Linked DNA regions of Homo sapiens: all the other regions are linked to region 1. Evidence: promoter capture Hi-C in 16 types of primary human blood cells and fetal thymus (Javierre and others, 2016). All regions are on one chromosome and are shown on one strand. Each heading gives the region's core, a stretch centred on a gene start or on the middle of the fragment in contact. The rest is flanking DNA. Distances are from core to core; before and after follow the strand shown.

Region 1 (3,335 bases), core at 338-2,837:
GAAAAACACAAATGATAATATTACCTATAGAATGGCTACAAAGATTTAAGGGGCTAAAATGTTAGCAATAACTCGTTATTACGGTTATGGTTATAGTGTTCAGTTATCCAGTTTGGAACGATTTATCACTGAAAATTAATACTCATGCAAGTAGTAAACGAATGTAATGACCATGATAAGGAGACGGACGGTGGTGATAGTATCGGTTTTATAATTCTGACAATTTTTCTGGAACATTCCAACATTTGATCAACAGTATACTTCTGTTAGGTCAAAATAGTAGGCTACCATGGTTACTTTAAAATTGCATCTTTGCCTTAAAAATGTTTTCACATAGAAATGCCACTTCTTAGAATTGAGCCTGTGAAAATAATTGTAGGTATGAACACAGCAATCTTAAAGGATATTGGTCAGAGTATTAGAAACACCCTATGTGTCCAGTAAATTGTAGTGCATGCATACCGTGGACAGACATACAATGTAGGCTGGTGCAGAAGAATATTCTACAGTGGGTGAAAATTCCCAGGACATAGTAAGTGAGTAGAATGGGCTACCAAAAAAGTATATGTAGTACAATCTCATACTTGATTTCAAAAAGCCCGGGAGGATGTATGTACACAAAAGTATTCATCGTGGTTATCCCCAGGAGAATTATGAGGAGAATTATGGATAAGAGTTTAATTTCCTTCTTTTTGCTATCTATGTTTTCTACAATCAATTTTAAACTTAAAAAAACAAAGTCAGAATAATAATTATTTATTTGATTGTGCCAAGAAATCTACTACATTAAAAAAAAAAAAAAAAAAAAAAAAGCCTGGGCACAGTGACTCATGCCTGTAATCCCAGCACTTTGGGAGGCTGAGGTGGGTGGATCACTTGAGGGCAGGAGTTCGAGACCAGCCTGGCCAACATGGTGAAACCCCGTCTCTACTAAAAATATAAAAGTTAGCAGGGCATGGTGGTGGACACCTGTAATCCCAGCTACCAGAGAGGCTGAGGCAGGAGAATCGCTTGAACCCAGGAGGTAGAGGTTGCAGTGAGCTGAGATTGTGCTATTGCACTCCAGCCTGGGTGATAGAGTAAGACTCTGTCTCAAAAAAAAGAAAAAAAACTTACGACATGATGCCCTTCCCCCCAGCCCCTGTCCACACACTTCCTGTCATGTTGTCCTTGGTTAATGATTGGCCAGATCAGGTTTACAATAAAAACCCAAGGGAAATTCTATGCCTCAATTCTGCAGACTTACTCTATTTTTCAATTTTTACAGTATTAAATGAAAAAACATTATTTATGGCAATCACCCAAATGACGATCACAAAGTATATTCTGGGCCATGAGTCTGTGGTCATGGGTTTAATTCCCCTTTTTTCCCACCTCTGGGTCACAGGATCCAGTAGGGAAGTGATGGAGAGTGTGAATAACTGCCAGCTCAATGGGGCAGAGGCAGCCTTGTTGATCTGGGCCACCTGCCCTCTCTCCTCCCGAAGCTAAGCCACTGCCTTGAGAAGGAGGGGCTGCAAATGGTCTGAGGCTGCTGGCAGCTGGCCAAGAGTTCAATTACCTGGGCCACAGCCCGCCCTCCTAGTTCTTCCGGTTACTGACTCTGTGGCTGCTGCCTCCCACAACGCTGTGCTTGCAGACCCCAGGAGCGCTGGCTGTCCCTTCACTTCCTGAACATGTGGATGTGTGCTTTGGGTTCTTGACCTCAGCTCTTCCCAAGGTCTTCTTAGAGAAGGGTCTAAATGAAGTCATTTTTAGAGTATTTGTTTTTGGTTACACAGGTGCTTCCGCCCATGTGGCCTCGGAGTGGGACCCTGCGGGTCATCAATCTGTACATTGCCTGAGAGCAGCCGTGTATGCTCTGGAAGGGACAAGACCAGGTACCTGTCGGGGGATGCGGCCGTGGTACCAGGCATGGCTGCGCAGGTCCTCGCTGCTCAGGAGCAGCTCCTCCTCCAGCTCCTTCTTCAGTTTCTCGGGGGTCCTGTCCATGATGTGCCTCTCCTTGGAGAACTGCAACACAGAGTCAACCATGAGCTCACCCTGCCCAGGCCACACCAGGCCATGCCAGCTGGAGGTGACCGCCTGCTTCACTAATCCAACCAGTTATGCTACAGCCTGCATTCAGGTAGGGGAGCCTGGATAATGATTACAAAGAGCTGTGACCTTTCGTTTCTCCGGCCGCAACCATGTAATAAAATTTTCACCTGCACATGGGGACTATGGTAGGAGAGTCCACCAAGAGGTTCCTTTTACCAGTCTACTCAAGCAGCTGGGCAGGAAGGGCCAGAGAGATGTACAGACAGCAAGACACAGCAGCCCAGCCTGCTCTCTTCCCAGCGGAGAGCTTCCTCATTCTCCTTCAGGACTGTCCTGACATAGCGTGGGGAGGGCAGCTGTTCCCTTCTGGCCTTAGATCCTGGGCCTCTGGGCAGTGAGGCCCAAAGCACAGTCCTTGGGCTGGTAGCGATGGCCCTAACTTCTTTGCTGTTGGTAAACTCATGTTCAGGAATTGAGTCAGTCTTTAGAAACTTTTAGGGCAAATGGACAGAGCAATTTTATGTCTCTTGAATCTAATAACAGAAGTCTGTCTTTATTTCACATTTCTAATATTTCATTTTTATGACAGATAGGAAAGTGAAACAAATTTAAAAAGACAACCCTGGTCCTTCACCTCAGATGTTTGAGAATCAGTGGTCTGCGGCGTTGCACAGTGGCCATGGCAGTGAGTGCTGGGTGGACAGCGGTGGCTCCAGGTTTAATTTAGAACCATGCCTGCTTACAACATGTGAACTGAACCTGGAAACCTGCCCAGTTCCCAGCAAGACCAGGCATGCTGACCAGGAACCGCTTGCTGAAAGTCCCATGAACAGAAAAAGGCTGTGTCCCTGTGGTTCTCCCAAGTTTCCCAGCTTGTCCTTCAAACCCCCATGGGAGCCACAAAATTATTACTTATCACACTACTTTTTAAAAATGTTTATTTATTTTATTTTTTTTGAGACAGGGTCTCACTGTGCTAGAGCACAGTGGTGCAATCTCAGCTCACTGTAGCCTTGGCCTCCTGGGCTCAAGCAACCTCCTGGGCTCAAGCGATCCTCCCATCTCAGCCTCCCTGGTAGCTAGGACTACAACAGGCACGTGCCACCATGCCTGGCTAATTTTTGTAATTTTTTTTTTAGAGATAGGGTTTTGCCATGTTGCCCAGGCTGGTCTCAAACTCCTGGGCTCAAGCGATCCACCCACCTTGGCCTCTCAAAGTGCTGGGATTACAGGCGTGAGCCACCATGCCCGGCCTATTACACTACTTTGCACGTCAGCAAAGAAATAGCTCCAAA
Region 2 (3,335 bases), core at 215-2,714, 210 kb after region 1:
AAGTCTGCAGAGGTTACTGCTGTCTTTTTGTTTGTCTGTGCCCTGCCCCCAGAGGTGGAGCCTACAGAGGCAGGCAGGCCTCCTTGAGCTATGGTGGGCTCCACCCAGTTCGAGCTTCCTGGCTGCTTTGTTTACCTAAGCAAGCCTGGGCAATGGCGGGCGCCCCTCCCCCAGCCTCGTTGCCGCCTTGCAGTTTGATCTCAGACTGCTGTGCTAGCAATCAGCGAGATTCCGTGGGTGTAGGACCCTCTGAGCCAGGTGTGGGATATAGTCTCGTGGTGCGCCGTTTTTTAAGCCGGTCTGAAAAGCGCAATATTCGGGTGGGAGTGACCTGATTTTCCAGGTGCGTCCGTCACCCCTTTCTTTGACTCGGAAAGGGAACTCCCTGACCCCTTGCGCTTCCCAGGTGAGGCAATGCCTCCCCCTGCTTCGGCTCGCGCACGGTGCGCGCACACACTGGCCTGCGCCCACTGTCTGGCACTCCCTAGTGAGATGAACCCGGTACCTCAGATGGAAATGCAGAAATCACCTGTCTTCTGCGTCGCTCACGCTGGGAGCTGTAGACTGGAGCTGTTCCTATTCGGCCATCTTGGCTCCTCCCCAACACTTATAGTCTTATTTGTCTTCGCTTCCAAACAAAAATATCCATTTCCTATATATTATTTTGAATAGGGGTAAAAATTAGGAACCATGTTTCCATGATTTCAGGATTCCAGATGTTCTGGGGACAGAACAATTCTTCCTGAATTTGTTTGCAATCTAAAACTGAAATTGGATTCCAAATATTATTATTTAGTATGGTTCCATCAACTGCCTGTTGGGAGAACACGGGTATTATTAAAAATGATCCCAATTTCCACTAGCTATACTGCATTATATTTCTGGTTACTGTATATGTGGGTTGCTGAAGCCCTAAGAGTACAGGCTGTGTACCCTGGTAGCAATTTTCCAGGAAGAAGAGGGCCCATATGTTTTCCATAAATGTATACCTTGTGCTTCTGCATCCAAAACGACTGGCCACGTTTTAGAGGCCACTTCTGCTTCCATTTGGATTAGCATGGTCAATAACCTTGTTGAATTTGAACCCATGCTTTTTCTGATTGTTGGGCTTTGGCATAGTCCCTCGTTAGCCAGGCAGTTTGATTCACCCATTTAGCAATAGCATCATTATCTTTCCATGCAGCTTCTCAACCCTCACTTTCCTTCTGAAAGAGTATGCTTTTTATTCTACTTAGGTTGGTAAGTATCAACTTTTCTTGTAAATGTCTTTCTTCATTAAATACATTCTCAACTTGTCTTAATGTCCCAAGTCCTGCCTCTATTGCATTTAAGGCTCTTTTTACAATTTAGTTTGTTTGGAAAAGAAGTTTAGTTAAGCTTTGTTAATAATGGAGTATATCTCCTTTCAGTAAAGTTGGTTCATATAAACTGCCATTTACTTTCATAGGTCAACCTGTAATTATCTCATGGGATAATTGACATATTATTCCAGAAGGAGCTGCTCTTAGGTTAAGCAAAACCAGTGGAAGAGCCTGGGGCCAAGTAATAGGAAAAGCTTTCGATAATTTTCTAGCTGGGTTTTATTTTTGATATATTCATTCTACCAATCAGAAGACTGGGCATGGTATGTACAATAAAAATATTGGAAAATAGGCCAGATTATACAAATTAAGTGAATTATCTGTTCAGTGAAATGAGTTCCCTATTTCTATGTAATTTGGAAAGAATTCCTCAAAAGGAAATTATCCATTCCAACAAACATTTTCCTACTGTCTCAAGGAAATTCTTCAACCCAATGAGAGAACATATAAATCATAACCAATACATATTTATAACCCTGAGCTGGAGGTAAGTGGATAAAATCCATTTGTCAAATATTGAAAGGGCCGGTGGGCAAAGGTAAATGCCCTTGAGATCTAGAAGAGGCTTTCCTGGATTATATATAGGACAAATTGGACATTTAGCACAAACCTTATGAACTACTGTGGGTGAGGGTTTCCAGTAATAGTGTTTTCCCCAGGCAAATATTTTCTCAAGTCCCCAGTGAATGAGTTCATGGACATGCTGTAATATAGGAAATTGATATCCCAAAGGCAAAATAGGGATGTGCTTTCCTGTCACTGGGTCTATATTATATTTTGCAAGTTGGGGGAAAAGCATTCTCCCTTAGTCATATTTGCTTTTTCCGCTTTGGAGCCTTTTCTTGAGCCCCTTCACTTTAAACATGGCCATCTCTACAGTTTCATTTGATATTAGCATTAAGCTAATTTTTATTTTTATTTTTTTTGCTCAGCATCAGCAAAATTATCTCCTTCACTCCAGGGAGTCATGTTTGGAATGTCCAAGACTCTTAACAATAGCCAATTTTTTTTGGTAACTGGATGGCTTCCAGAAGATCAGAAACTTGAGAGCCATGTTTAATAGGATGTCCAGAGGAGGTTAAATAACCTCGCTGTTTCCATAACATTCCAAAGACATGAGCTGCACCAAAAGTGTAATGGCTGTCAGTATAAATATTAGTTATTTGATTTTTGGCCAGTTAGACAACCTCTGGTGAGTACTATTAATCCAGCCAACTGTGCTGACTTTACTTTAGGCAAGAAATTGCTCTCTATGATGTCTACATGAGACACAACGACATAGCTTGTTTGGTATTTTTCAAACTTATCCTTTAGATATGATCCATCTGTGAACCAGGTAACATCAGCATTTTGTAGTGGTATCTCCTGCAAATTCTGACTGGGCATCAAAAGCTGTTCTATTAGTAATAGAACTATACAGCATACAGACTGTATGCTGTTCCATACAGTCATGAGGTAATCTCCTCAGTTGCTTCAAGAAGTAACTTGTGAGATTAAGAGTATTACAGCAAGAGAGGGTAATGTGTGGAGCAGAGAGTAAAAGTACATTGTAATAAAGCCAATCAGTTGACAGAAAAATATTGTGTATGATGTGAATTCAAAAAAGCTTCTGCAGAATGAAGTACATATATAGTCAAGGGAGCCTCCATTAGTTTCCTGAGTAGCCTTGAGAAATATGATAATGCCTGAAATGGCCCTCCAACAAGGGGGCAGCCCGTGAGCTATAGAGTCTATTGCTGACTATCAGAGCCAACAGGTCTATATTTTCCCCCGTGTTTTGGGGCTGGAACACCCAGGATGATGCCATGGCTTCCATAAACAAAGAACAAAAATGGTAGCTGATAATTTGGATGGCTCAAAGCAGGCGCCCTTGTAAGATTTTCCTTTATTTACTGAATAGTTATTTGTTCTTAGGATATCCAATGTATGGGGTCAGGTTGATCTTTCAACAATGCATGTAAAGACTGTTCCATG
Region 3 (3,335 bases), core at 446-2,945, 160 kb before region 1:
CTGGACCCCATGCTTGCTCACTCACACATCTCTCACCACTCCATGCCTGGCTTGCCCTTGGCAGCCGTAGGATCCAGGCCAGTAGCATGAGCTGAGAGGAGCCTGCCAGGCCAAGTGGGTGGAATAAGCCCAGCAGCCCCAAGCAAAACTCAGCCACAGAGGTTTCCAGCCAGAAAAGCAACAACCCAAGGATCCTGCAACAGTGAGACCCCATCTCTGCAAAAAATTTAAAAATTAGTCAAGTGTGGTAGTACATACCTGCAGTCTTAGCTATTTGAGAGGCTGAGGTAGGAGGATCACTTGAGCCTGGGAAACGAAGGTTGCAGTGAGCCGAGATCACACCACTGCACTGCAGCCTGGGTGACAGAGCAAGACCCTGTCTCAAAAAGGAAAACAGTCATTTTAAAAATAAAGTTTAAAAAATGTATATTAGAAACCCTAAAGTAACCACTAAAATACAAAACAAAGAGTTGTAGCTAATAGGCCAACTGGAGATAAAATGGAATAATAAAAAATACTCAATCCAAGAGAAGTTAACAAGAAAAAGGGGGAACAGAAAACAAATAGGACAAACAGAAAACAAAAAGTAAGATGGTAGACTTAAACCCTACCATATCCTTAATTATGTTAAGTGTAAACATCTTAAACACCCCAATTTAAAGGCAGAGATTGTCAAGTTGGGTAGAAAAGCAAGACCCAACTATATGCTGCCTATAAGAAACCCATTTGAAAAACAAAGTAACAAATAACCTAAAAATTAAAAGATGGAAAAAAATCTCATGCTAACACTAATCAAAAGAATACTAGGATGACAATATTAATTTCAGACAGAGTAGATTTCTGAGCAAAGAATATTGCCAGTGTTAAAAAGAATCATCCTAAATCCAGGTACAGTGATGTGTGCCTGTAACCCTAGCTACTCCAGATGCTGAAGCAAGAGGATCACTTGAGCCCAGGAGTTTGAGACCAGCCTGGGCAACATAGTGAAAAAAAAGTTAAAAAATTAGCTTGGTGTGGTGGCGAGTGCCTGTAGTCCCAGCTACTCAGGAGGCTAAGGTGGGAGATCACTTGAGCCCGGGAAAAATTGAGGCTACCTTGAGCCATGATTATGCCACTATACTTTAGCCTAGATGACAGAGTGAGACCCTATCTCAAAAAAAAAAAAAAAAAGAAAAGAAAATGAGATAAAACAAAGGAGTCAATTGGTCAAGAGAACTTAGCAATTCTCAATGTTTATGCACCTGATAATTAAGCTTCACATACACAAAATAAAACTGATGGAACTGCAAGGAAAAATATATAAGTTCACAATTATAGTAAGATACTTTGGCATCTTTCTCATTAGAATTTAATAGAAGAGATAAACAGAAAATCTGTAAAGATATTGAAGATTCAAACACCATAAACCAACTTGACCTAATTGAAATTTATCAAATACTTCACCCAACAGCAACAAAATACATGTTCTTTTCTAATATCCACAAAACATTTACCAAGATAAGTCATATTCTGATCAAAAACCGAGTCTCAGTAAGTTGAAAATAATTCAAATATACAAAATATGACAACAAGAAAATTAAATGGAACTCAACAACAGAAAGATATCTGAAAAATCCCCAAATAGGTGGATATTAAACATAAATAACACACTTCTAAATAACTCAAGTATCAAAAAGGCAAGCAAAAGAATGTTAGAAATTATTTGAATTGAGTAAAAAGAAAAATTTGTGAGATGATGCTAAAGCAGTGCTTAGGAGGAAATATATAGCATTAAGGGCATATATATTTTAAAAATTGTTTCAAATTAGTGACCTTAGGAAACTGTAAAAAGAAGAACAATTCAAATCCAAATCAGCCAAAGAAAGTAATAAATATAAGAGCAGAAATCAGAGAAATGGAAAACAAATAAGCAAGAAGAATAGAGAAAATCAATAAAGCCAAAAACAGATTGAGAAGATCAATAAAATTGATAAACCTGTAGCCTGACTGATAGGAGACAAAAGAAGATACACATCACTAATATTGAGAAGGAAAGGGTGACATAATTATAGGTTCTATAAACATTAAGAGGATAATAAGGGACTATTATAACTTTTTACTAATATATTCAACAACTTAAATGAAATAGGCAAGCTACCAAAGCTTACTCAAGAAGAAATAGTAATATGCAAAGTTTTATTTTTATTAAAGAAATCAAATTTTTAATTAAAAATTTTCCCATTAAGAAAACTCCAGGCCCAGATGGCTTCACTGTTGAAGTCTACCAAAATGTAAAAGCAAAATAATAACAGTTCTACAAAAATTCTTTCAGAAAATTGAAGAAGAAGAAACTTCCCCTAATTCATTATATGAGACTAGCATTCACCCGGTACCAAAACCAAACAAAAACACAGAAGATAATGAAACTGTATGCCACTGTTCTTCATGAACATTGAAATAAAATTCCTCAACAAAATGTTAGCAAAATAAATCCCGTAATGAATACAATGGTTAATATATTCTGACCAAACTAGTTTATCCCACAAATGCAAGACTGGTGAAAAAAATTAGAAAATTAACCAATGTAATTTAATCTACACACACACACACACACACACACACACACACACACACACACACACACAAATTCTTCTCAATAGCTGAAAGAAAAACATTTGACAAGGTCTTACATTCATTCCTAACGAAAACTTTCATCAGTGTAGGAATAGAAGGGAATTTCTTTTACCTGACAAAGTCCATATATAAAAAATTTACAGCTACCGTCATGGTTTATCATGAACAACTGAATGCTTTCTGTCTAAGATTCCAAAGAAAGAAAGAAATGTCCATGCTCACCTCTTTTTCTTTGACAGGTTCTCGCTTTATCACCCACACTGGAATGCAGTGGCGCTATTATGGCTCACTGCAGCCTTGACCTCCTGGGCTCAATTAATTCTCCTATCTCATCCTCCCAAGTAGCTGGGAATACAGCTGTGCACCAGCATGCCTAGCTAATTTTTTTTTTTTTGTATTTTTGGTAGAGACAGGGTTTCACCACGTTACCCAGGCTTGTCTCAAACTCCTGGGCTCAAGTAATCCTCTTGCCTTGGTCTCCCAGAGTGTTGGGGTTTATAGGCATGAGCCACTGGATGGGTCCTCCATGCTCACCTCTTCTATTCAACATTTTATTAAGAAAATAAAAAGAAGTAACAGTATATAAATTATAGAAGAAGAAGGAAAATTTTATTTGGAACAACAAAATCATCTAGGTAGAAAATCTTAAGGAACCCCTCAAGAAAGATAATATAACTATATAACTAAGAAGTGAGTCATCATTGAAGTATATATAATGTACA
Region 4 (3,335 bases), core at 358-2,857, 140 kb before region 1:
ACGCCGTCTCAAAAAAAAAAAAATCCATTTCCCCTTACTAATTAATGTTACTTGCAATTGCAAAATACATTCATGATTCTAGGGAGTGATAGGAAGTGATGGGAGAGGCGGTTAACAGTGTTAGGTGACATAAATAAACGAAGAAATTATTTTGGAATAGAGGCAATGTAGAAAAATGTTAGAAAGTGTTGTTCAATCCTTCACAGGCTTTTCACTGCATGGTACAAAGTTAAGCATTTAAAAATTGGCTATAACCCACTTGGAAGAGGGCATTTGTATGCTTAAAGTGGCCTCAGAAAAGGACAGCAGAGAATTTAGGAAGATTAGCAACTGGACTGTCAGGCGAACTCAGGCTGTTGGCCTCAACTCCAAGAGGGAGCGCAGCTAGGCAAAAGAATACGGATTAAGCGGAAGAGGTTGGAACACCTGTCCAGGCCAGGTAGGGGAGGAGTTTCAATGCTGACAAAGAACCCGTTGGGAGAGCTTCCTAAAACACCCAGCTGTCATGACGCACTGAGGAGTACTCTACTAGTTGACTGTTTTGAAGTGTGTGTGTGTGCGCTTGCTTGCTTTAGGAGACAAGCTATTAATACTAAAGCATATGTTAGGGAGTTGCTCAGCGTACTTGATATCTAGTAGCACCAGCCAAACTAGCTAACAGCCTTTCCATGGAGATAGGCCAGGAAGTAGCTCCATAGAGAAAAAAGGAAGTAGTGGACCTGCCTCCAAGGTTCCGATACTGGGAGGTGAAAGAGATCTGAAGTTCCGAATAAGCTGTTTACACTACCAGAGAAAAATCTGGCTCCCATCCAACCCTCACCCACGAGGTGCCCATTCCAGACATGGGGCAAGCTGCCTTCTCATCTTCCGCAGGTGACAGCTCGGCTCACATTTGTCCACGTCTTCCATCTCGTGCGCTGGCAACATACCTAAATGATTACTGGAAGAGCTGCCTCTTTTTATAATTTCCTGACAGAATTTATAAAATTAAAATATTTAATTAAAGACAGAATCGGGGACATGTTGCCTTCACATTTGCTGTTCAACCTGTGCACATTTTGGTGGTTCCCAAGAATCGTCATGCCAAAGCATCAGGCTTGAAAGGAGAGATCACCTTAAGCATCAAGATTTAAAAAAATAAAACACAACTCTCCTCAGTCTAAACTCTAGGATTTGGATGACGCTTCCCTGTCAAGGTTTCTCCCGAGTGGAGGAGACAAGAGGCAGGAAAGGCAGGTAACTAAAATTGCCTCATGTAAAGGGGCTCAGCGCAGAGGAGGAATGAGATAATAGCGGCGGTGGGGGTCTTTTCCCTTCTCTCCCTTTCTATCTTGGAAACAGGGGTCCGACTGGCAGCGGAGTGGGGGCAGTCCAAGCTCCGGGGTACCTGCAGGAGGAGACTCGACCAGCGAGAGGGGCCAGCGAGGGTGACCAGGTGCCCGCTTGGGGACCCCGCCGGCGGTGGCCAGGCTAGCCCAGGTCCTCCCCGATCCCAGGATGCACTGCGCCCCGCCCCCTCCCCGCGCCGCGTTCCGCCTCCCCTCGGCCCCGGCCCCCTCCCGCCCAGCGCGGGGAGGCGGGGACGCGTCGGCGGCGGAGGCTTCTCCAGTCGCGTCTTTCTCACTCACTGGGGAGCCCGGCGGTGGCGGCACCTTTCGAGGTAGACCCGCTGAGCTGCTAGCCCGCCGGCCAGCGAGTGAGAGGTCGGACAGACTGTGGAGCCGACAGACTGAAGGACAGCGGCACCGCCAGACGGCCAGAAAGTTCCGCCATGAGCTGGGGCACGGAGCTGTGGGTGAGTCGGGGAGAGGGGCGCCCCGCACGGACCCCGGCCCCTGAGAAGCGCGGGTTGGGCGGGCGCCGCGGACCCTCGGCGGTGAAAGCGCGCTCCGCCGTCCTCGGTCCGGCGCTGGCGGAGGGTGAGGGTCCCGCTCGTCTTTGTGTGCAGACTCCTCTTCCCTTCTCGGCCGGGGGTCTAGGGGGCCGCTAGTCCGTGCTCCCGCCTTTGCCGCCGTGGTGCAGCTCGGGCGGCGCCCGGGACGGCCGGGGGAGCAGCCCGCGGGCTCCTGCGTGCGCCGTGATCCCCTCTTGTTCCTTCTCCCTCCTCCACCTTCACTTTTCCCGACGCCTGGCTTCGCGCCCGGCGGCTCCTCTCTTCCTTTGTATCTCTCCTCCCGGAGGCGGGGGAGGGGGCCCATTGTCCCCAAGGGGCGCTGTTCGAGGGCGGGGAGGGGACCGGCCGCGATTCCTCGCCCGGGCCAGGTCCGCGGGGCTAGGGCGTCGCCCGTCTGGGGCGGCGCCGCCCAGAGCCCTCGCCCCAGGTATGGGGACCCAGGCGGCTTTGTTCGGAGCCCGGCCTCGGGCCAGCCAGGCCCAGCCCACACGCACATTTCTCTCTCCCTGCCTCAGTGCTTCGGGCGGGCACAGCTTCGAGGGACTCCGGTTTGGCCACCCCCGGCTGCAGCCTTTGGGCTGGTGGGTTGGTTTTGGGGGCTGAATTAAATCGAGTGATCGATGAGGAAGCTAATTTTACCAAAAGGAGCGTACGGTCTCCCTGTTGCTTTACTTCCCTTTCCGTTCTTTATTCTCACTTGTTCTTTCTCCTTCGTTCTCTCCTTTCCTTTCCTCCTTGCCTTTCTTTGGCACAGGAGGCTCCAGACAATGCCCAGTGTCTGGCCAAGGTACGGGCGGAGGGTAATAGGTCGGAGAATTTGCTCCTGGCGCCGGCGCGGAAGGGTCGAGGTGTGGAGGGCAGTGATTTCTCAGGTGCGGAGGGCAGTGATTTCTCAGGTGCGGCCGGGAGAACTGGGGGCGTGGGGGCGCTGTCCCGAGAGCCGCCTGGCCTCAGCCACTCCCCTTTTTATTCCACCTGTGCCTGTTTTCCGTGCCTTTTGTTCGCGAGGATCTCGTGAAATCACTGCAGAGAAAGGGGAGAAATAACTTTTGAGTATGTGTGTGCCCAGCTAGGGTGGGAGTGAAAGCCAATGGGTTAATTGAAAGGCAAAATGTTTTCTTATTTTTCACGTCTACTCATAGATTGGGAATCTTAGAACTGTGAGACTTTAGAGTCCATCTAGTGAATGCTTTACTTAGCCAGCCAGGAATCTCTTGTGCAACATTCTGTACAAGTGCTTACCCAGTCTGAAAACACACCACCCAAGAGAAAATACCTTAGGAGCCCCTTCATTCCGTTTCTTAGATAGCATTAATTGTTCTTATATTGGGGAGGATTGCATGGTAAATGAATTACATAAAGTTTAATTCTTTTACATTGGTTAGTTTCTCAGGCATTATTGGCCTTTTTCCCTTACACTTTGTGCATTCTATAATTGATT

Evidence for each region. The method cuts DNA at HindIII sites, captures the fragments that hold promoters and counts their contacts. A CHiCAGO score of 5 or more calls a contact.
Region 2: a contact is called between a fragment that was not itself captured here and the fragment with the promoter of BCAR3-AS1 in region 1, in 6 of 17 cell types (naive B cells, total B cells, M1 macrophages and 3 more). The highest score is 6.5, in naive B cells.
Region 3: a contact is called between a fragment that was not itself captured here and the fragment with the promoter of BCAR3-AS1 in region 1, in 4 of 17 cell types (megakaryocytes, erythroblasts, endothelial precursors and 1 more). The highest score is 7.6, in megakaryocytes.
Region 4: the fragment with the promoter of FNBP1L here is called in contact with the fragment with the promoter of BCAR3-AS1 in region 1 in 15 of 17 cell types (erythroblasts, M0 macrophages, megakaryocytes and 12 more); the score reaches 27.9 in erythroblasts.

What each region holds. Positions count from the first base shown.
Region 1 is chr1:93,590,381-93,593,715 of GRCh38, forward strand. BCAR3-AS1 (BCAR3 antisense RNA 1) reads left to right here and starts at 1,588. Exons shown (of 4, transcript NR_034091.1): 1 at 1,588-2,128. It overlaps BCAR3 (BCAR3 adaptor protein, NSP family member), which reads right to left. Exons shown (of 12, transcript NM_003567.4): 4 at 1,885-2,013. RefSeq lists enhancers at 1,784-2,284, 1,791-1,950. The HindIII fragment of the contact is 15,312 bases long and covers 1-3,335 here.
Region 2 is chr1:93,796,080-93,799,414 of GRCh38, forward strand. It overlaps a transcript of BCAR3 not described here. Among named protein-coding and RNA genes, the nearest start is that of MIR760, 49 kb to the right of the region's middle. RefSeq lists an enhancer at 1-377. The HindIII fragment of the contact is 178 bases long and covers 1,376-1,553 here.
Region 3 is chr1:93,427,846-93,431,180 of GRCh38, forward strand. No RefSeq gene overlaps it. Among named protein-coding and RNA genes, the nearest start is that of FNBP1L, 19 kb to the right of the region's middle. The HindIII fragment of the contact is 889 bases long and covers 1,252-2,140 here.
Region 4 is chr1:93,446,511-93,449,845 of GRCh38, forward strand. FNBP1L (formin binding protein 1 like) reads left to right here and starts at 1,608. Exons shown (of 17, transcript NM_001164473.3): 1 at 1,608-1,795. The coding sequence starts at 1,772. RefSeq lists silencers at 482-776, 1,716-1,765 and an enhancer at 1,257-2,235. The HindIII fragment of the contact is 14,675 bases long and covers 1-3,335 here.